Regions from separate parts of the Homo sapiens genome. Here region 1 is linked to region 2. Evidence: promoter capture Hi-C in human tissues and cell types (Jung and others, 2019). All regions are on one chromosome and are shown on one strand. Each heading gives the region's core, a stretch centred on a gene start or on the middle of the fragment in contact. The rest is flanking DNA. Distances are from core to core; before and after follow the strand shown. Region 1 overlaps NTM (neurotrimin). Region 2 holds the start of NTM (neurotrimin).

Region 1 (3,398 bases), core at 77-2,576, 790 kb before region 2:
GTCTGAGACTAGAGGGACCAAAACATTTTGATAGAAGTAACAGAGAAGTTCATGCTCTCACGCCTGACCAAAGAGAGAGCAAACACTGAGAAAATATGATCAAGTCCACTTAACGGTAGGCCTTTGTTTTCATTCATTCATTTATTTGACAAATGCTTACAGAGTGCCTACTATGCACCAGACCCTGTTCTAGGCACTTGGGAAACAACAATGAACATGCCAGATCAAGCCCCACCATCATGGCACACATGTTCTAGAGGGGTTGAAACAGGCTACCACTCTCCAACACGGAAATATCCATTATGCCAATAGGTGAGTTACTTTATAAAGAACAAACAAGGCAAGAAAGGTGCTAGGGTGTGATGATGTGGGGTTGGAAGCTCTATTTTATGCAGGTGGTGAAGAAGGCCTCTGCCTTAAGGTGACCTTGAACAGAGATCTAAGAAGAGAGCCCCAAGGACACCTGGCATGGGCACCAGCAGAGGGAGCTTTAAGGCCTGGAAGCCAGGAGGCCACCTTGGTGTATCACAGGCATATCAGGAAGTAGTGGAGACAGGGTAAGGAAAAGGGAGTGTGTGTGGAGGTGAAGCCAGGGAGACACTGGTGGCCGGACCAAGGAAGACCTTTTAGGCCACAGTAGGGATGTTAAAGACCTTAGGTGAGCCAGGAAGCGACTAAATCAGGAACAACGAAGCCTGCACAGAAATGCTTTCGCTGAGCATGGAGAACAGACGATAGGGAATAAGAACAAAAAAAGCAGGCCAGTTAGGTAGAAAGCTGTGGAACACTCCAGACAAAGGTAACAGCAGCTTGGGAGAGGGCAGAAGAGGCAGGACTGGATAAACCTCCGAATTCAGAAAATCTAGCAGGACGTGCTCAGGATTGAGGAAGAGGACGGGAAAAGGAAAACAGTGAAGACGGACTGCAGCTTTCACATGAGCCACTAGAAGAATGCAATTGCCATTTACCAGATGGCAAGACTCCAGGAGGAGCAGGTTTAGGGTTGGAGTCAGAGGATGGTCAGGAAAGAAGGCTAGAATTCAAGAGATCTATGTTTTACATTTTCAGTTTGAGATGCCTATGAGACACATAGTGGAGAAAAAACACAAATACGAGGTCCCTCTCCCAGTTAACAAGAGAATGTTTAGCGATTTTAATCTTCAACTCTGGTCCCACATTCACAAACCAAATCTCACAGCTTAATGCTAGGCGACATCAATGGTTTCCTCTCATTAAAACCATATTTGGCAGAGGTGTCTTTCCCTCCCTGCTTCCATACCCTAGGGCCCCTGGGACAGAAATTTTCAACATCAAAAAGTATCATCTTAGTTTTGAAATGTGGATGACTCCATCTGCTCCTGTAGATACCCCAAGGACAAAAAGCTGATGCCTCATTGCATTTACATGACAAGGGTGCATCTCCAAAGAGATTTTTTTTAAAAAGAAATAATGAAAAAGATGAGTGTTACTTCATCTCTCACAGTGACAAAGACTAAATTTGGGGCAGATTTCAAATATCAATTTTTGTTTTTCCTATTTCCATCCATTAAGGATTCAAAACATTGAAGGTCAGTGTATTTGTTTCCTTTTTCTATAACACATTTCCATATATTTAGTGGCTTAACAAACAAGAGAAATTGATTCTTTGATGATTCTGGAGGTGAGACGTCCAAAAATGACTCTCACTAGGCTGAAATCAGGGTATCAGGAAGGCTGTGATTCCTCCAGAGGCTCTCAAAAGATATCTGGTCTTTGGTGCTCCCAGCTTCCGCTGGCTATGGGCATTCTTTGGCTTGTGGCCACATCACTGTAACCCTGAGGGTCAGCATCTTCATATCCCTCTGCTCCCGTCTTTACACTGCCTTCTCCTCTGTGTGTGTTCCTATCAAATCTTCCTCTGCCTCCCTTTTGTAAAGATTTATGTGATTGCATTTAGGGCCCAGGACAATTTCCCTATCTCAAATCTTTAAACTAATCTCATCTGTAAAGACTCTACCATGCAAAGTATATTTTTGGGTTCCAGGGATTAGAATCTGATCTTTGTTTGGACATTATTCAGCCTACTACAACTAGTAATGAAAAAAAAATGAATCATTTTGTTTAATAATTATAATACAATAAAAAAGAAACTTTACAGATAGATTATCCAACAAATAGTCCCTGAGCTCTATTAAATTCCAGGCACTGGGGATAGAATGCACAAGCATACGGGCCCCCTGACCTCAGAAAAAATGACATAATCAACCAATCACACAGACAAATGCCACATTTTAACTGTGGCAAAAAGCAGGAAGAAGGGCAAGGCTCTAGCTCCTGGCAGAGGTGGGAGTGGCAGTGGTTAGCAGGTCTGGGAAAGTTCTCTATGGAAATGGCATTTGAGTCAAAGTCTGAAGGATAAATAGGACCGACTGGGTGAAAAGCAAAAGAGAATTCCAGGAAGAGGGAAGGGAACGTTCAAAGGGCCTATGACCAGAAATAACAAGAAAAAATACACTAGAATGAAAATAGTGAGGCAGGACATGGCATGAACCAGGAGCAGAGGTCCCCTGGAGCCTGGCCTCCAGGACTATCAACTCCTTCATAAGGAATTGGCTCTCTTGGGCTAAAGAGAAGTCTTTGAGGAACCTCCAGATTTGGTTTGAAAAGATCACTCAGGCTACAAGTGCAGAAATGAGGGGTGAGGGGTGCAAAGTGGGTGTGGCAGAATCGCTATTTTCATTCTAACAGTCGGGAGCTGAAACGCCACATTACTCAATTTCAAAAGACTTTATTATTTTCTTGGCCTTCTGCAACAGCAAAGCCTGGCTCCCAAGCTTGCAGCCATCGCTCTCAGCCCAGGGACTCTCCAGTGGCTGTGAGAGCTGCTGCCCTTACACACCCTACCTGCACCCCACTCCTTTGCACATCCCCATTGTAGGGACCCATCTCATCCATCTTTGTATCCATTCCAACCTCAATTTCAGGACTTGACACATGATGGTTTATGTGTGAAAGGGAAAATAATCAAAATTTCTCATCTTTCTTTCTCAGAGTAGGAAGAAATGGCTTGGCCAGCCTAGCCCTCAGAATGAGGAACAGTGTTAGCACACAGGTCCCCTCTGTGAAATCCAGGTTTTAGGACGATAAGAACACCATAAAACATGCCCAAACAAAACTGTGAGAACACAGGAGATGGTGGCAAGAGAGCTGAGGAAGAGCACCAGGTCAGAAGGCCAGAAAGCCAGGAGCAATAGAGCTCCGCGGAGGCGGCTGAGGCTGGAGAAACGGGATGCGACCCAGACCGGTTTCTGGGAACAGGGACCCACATCAGCGGCAGGACATGTGTGCATTCCCCATCTAGAGGATTGCATCCATAGAAAGAAGACAGAAAAAGACAAATGGATGTAAGCACCTGGAAG
Region 2 (3,473 bases), core at 468-2,967:
CATGCCTCCTGGGGTTGGGTGCAGCAGACGACATCATGGACATCCCTGCAAGATTCACCACCTTGGACTTCCTTATCACCCGACACAGATCCCTCCTGTCCCCACCCCTTGCCTTCTTCATCGAGCCCCAGTCAAGGGTGTACACATTTGATCCTTCCAGCCTGGTCTCTCTGCCCACCTTACGTGGATCCACACTGCAGCCACTGCAACCTATGTCAAGAGGACAGCAGCAATCCCTAAATCCTAACCTCGGAGAAGAGCCAGCAGGACTACAGCTCAGGACTCAGTCCAGATCAGGAGAACTCCATATTGCAGGGGGAGAAGAGGGCGAGGGGGTGGGACTCCCCATCGTTTTTCACCGGGTCAGAGGGAACTTTCCTCTGGGAATACAACTGCATAGGACTGAGCCTCACCTCCCAAGAGAGGGCTCCTCCTCCCGGAGCCCTGCTGGGCCACCCTGGGAAAGTTTCTCAGCTTGTCTCGATCCTTACGAGTTTTAGCTGTGTTTAATATAAAAGAGGCAAACTAGTTACCCCAAAGGACAGGGCAGGTGGGAGCAAGAAGATTAGTGGATAATTCTGTTGCTGGAACGAACAGACGTGAGAGCCGGGATGGGGTGTGGGGAGGCACGGTGCAGCAAATGGACTCAAGGTGGAGGCCGATTCCAAATGCACAGAACACAGCACTGGGGACATCAAAGCTTGCACTCAACTGCAGCCCCCAGGGCTCCCGGCTCAGCCGATAAATAAACAGAAAATTAGCATTCGACTCTTATTGCCTCTCTCCCTTCAACTTCGAAAAGCTTTTTAGAATTTCAGAGCCCCGGCTCCCCTCGCTTCCACACCTCCGACCCCAGCCACAAACACACCCCCGAACACATTTAAAACTAATACAGTTGTCCCCCACTGCTGCAAATTGACTCATCCCTTGCAGCTGGATCGCTGACCAGAACCTCACAGGAAGCACCTGATTCTTTCTAGCCTGCATTTTCCCCTTTGCTCCTTTTAAAAGCTTTGCAAGTTCGCTGGCCGATATTTAAAGTTTCCTCTTGTAATTTCTTCCCAGTCGCATAAGCAACACATTAGCAACCCTGTTGCCCTCCGAATCTGTCATTTCCCCCTGCTTACATGTGTGCTCCGTTGTGTATGTGTGCAAGAATGTGCATGAAGCCAGGGAGCCTTGCACACAAGCACAGTCCTAACAGGAGCACCAAACACATTTTACTTATGCACATACATATTCCCCCATTCCGGTAGCAGCCAGAATCAAATCAATATTCTCACAGCCTAGTCGGGAGAATGAAGTCCCAGCCATGCTGTCTAAACGCTCTCTCCTCCACCTGCAAACAGCGCAGCACAGCCGACTCGGGGAGTCTGCAAATCTTATAAAGCACACTGTACAATTCCTGGGTCTACCGAAGGCAAATCAATAGCAAGCTCTTACCTTGGAAGAGACACAGAGCAGCCAGCCCCGTGAAGATTGCCCAAGAGATAGAATTGTGCATTTTTGGCTGGATGGTTTTCATGATTTTTTTTCTTCTTCTTTTTCTTCTTTTTTGTCAGGTTCGGTTTTTTTCTTTCTTTCTTTCCTGATAGATTGTGTTGCTCTCAAGCTTGTGCAAGGAGATTTAAATCCACTGTTTTGCTGAAGGACACAACAAGAAAGCCGAGGGTGTGAGAGAGTATGACTTCTCCGTAATTATCTCCACTCATACTCTGGCACTGAGACACATTGTACAATCTGGCCCTGGACAGCCCTCCTACAAGCTGCAATCATTGGTTCTAATCCAAGGATTGACAGAGCTACAACACACGCGCGCGGGCACACACACACACACACACGCACACACACTCTCAGGAATCATTTACTGGGCAAATCAGGCTAGCTGATTAAAGAGACAGGAGCCTGGAGAGATAGAATGATAAATGCCACTTTGCCCCTTCTATATTACTTTCATTTTTTAAACTGACAGTCTCTGAGTCTTCTGAGTATCAGAAAATCCCTTTCCCCCTGGCATTCCCTGGCCTCCTGAACTCAGATTCCCTTTGCACTGGAAAAATCCCATAGCCAGCCATGGCTTATGGGAAATTTTAAAGGGACATTTTCATGCTCAGTGAAACTTGTAAAGATGAGGCAATTTTCATTTGTTGGTACCTATTTTCCCCTCCAATGGAAATATCATTCAGTGACAGCTTTTTTTTCTCTCTTTCATCAACCTTTCTACTTAGTTGCTTTGAAAATAGTAAATAACTTTCTATTTTCTCCTCCTGTCACTTCTGTTTCAGAACATCTATGTTACTCCTCTTTTTCATTCACTTTTTAGAAGTCAATTTCCTAAATTCATCCATGTGTATATGATACAATGGAAAGGTACAAAGTACCTGGTATTTGAGAAGAAGCTCTATAGTCTGAAGATGGAGAACCTTCTTCAAAAGAAAACAAAGCAGGAGTTTATTCCCCATGACTTGGTCAATCCACATCCACTAAAGCAATCATAGAAGCATCTGTGATTTAAACTGCAGCGAGAAAGATTCAGGGTAGACATGCGGAGGGGCTTTCTGAGTGTAAACTTTGTGTAGTTCCTCAGACAGTTGAAGACATTAACCTCCTTGGTGATAGGAAAGAATAAAAACCGAACAGAAATAATCTAATGGACATAAATGATTTCTTAAGAGGTCTAATTCTAGGGCCTGGAAGTTTATTCTAATCTTTGGCTTCCCCTTATGAGAAGCAAGTTAGAGGATGTGAACAAAAAATCTAGAAAATGTAGCTCCTGGCTGGGCACTGTGGCTCACGCCTGTAATCCCACAACTTTGGGAGGCCAAGGAAGGCCAGTAGCCTGAGCTCAGGAATTCGAGACCAGCCTGGGCAACATGGTGAAACCCTATCTCTACTAAAAAATTCCTTAAAAATATCTGGGTTTGGTGGTGCGCACCCGTGGTTCCAGCCACTTGGGTGGCTGAGGCAGGAGAATTGCTTGAGCCTGGGAGGCGGAGATCACAGTAAGCCAAGATGGCGCCACTACAATCCAGTCTGGGTGACAGAGCCAGCCCCTGTCTCAAGAAAAAAAAAAAAAAAAAAGAAAAGAAAAAGAAAATGTAGTTTCTCACAGAACCTTCCTTAGCTAATTCTGACACATTCATACCCCTACTATGCCTTGACACACATTTTAAAAATATTCTTCTAGAACTCCACCGCTAATTATTATACTTCCTTGTAACCCCATAAAAATGTTCATGTATTTTCAAACTGCATAGAAGAAAAGTACTCATTGTCTGTTTGTATTTTAGTGTACAGAGGTGAAATGAAAACATCACTGCCATTTTGCACATGTCTAAGACGTACGATTTACCTTGGCTTTTTTCTTTTTTCTTTCTTTTTTGTTTTTGTTTTTGACAGACTCTTGCCCCGTCACCCAGGTTGGAGTGCAGTGGTGCAATCACAGCTCACCGCAACTTTGAACTCCTGGGCTC

Evidence for each region. The method cuts DNA at HindIII sites, captures the fragments that hold promoters and counts their contacts. A contact is called where the count stands out against the background at its distance.
Region 1: a contact is called between a fragment that was not itself captured here and the fragment with the promoter of NTM in region 2, in 1 of the 25 tissues and cell types used here (dorsolateral prefrontal cortex).

Annotation. Positions count from the first base shown.
Region 1 is chr11:132,155,378-132,158,775 of GRCh38, reverse strand. All of the region lies in intron 3 of NTM (neurotrimin), which reads right to left. Among named protein-coding and RNA genes, the nearest start is that of NTM-IT, 130 kb to the left of the region's middle. The HindIII fragment of the contact is 4,902 bases long and covers 1-3,398 here.
Region 2 is chr11:131,368,859-131,372,331 of GRCh38, reverse strand. NTM (neurotrimin) reads right to left here and starts at 1,717. Exons shown (of 9, transcript NM_001352005.2): 1 at 1,444-1,717. The coding sequence starts at 1,525. The HindIII fragment of the contact is 4,341 bases long and covers 1,313-3,473 here.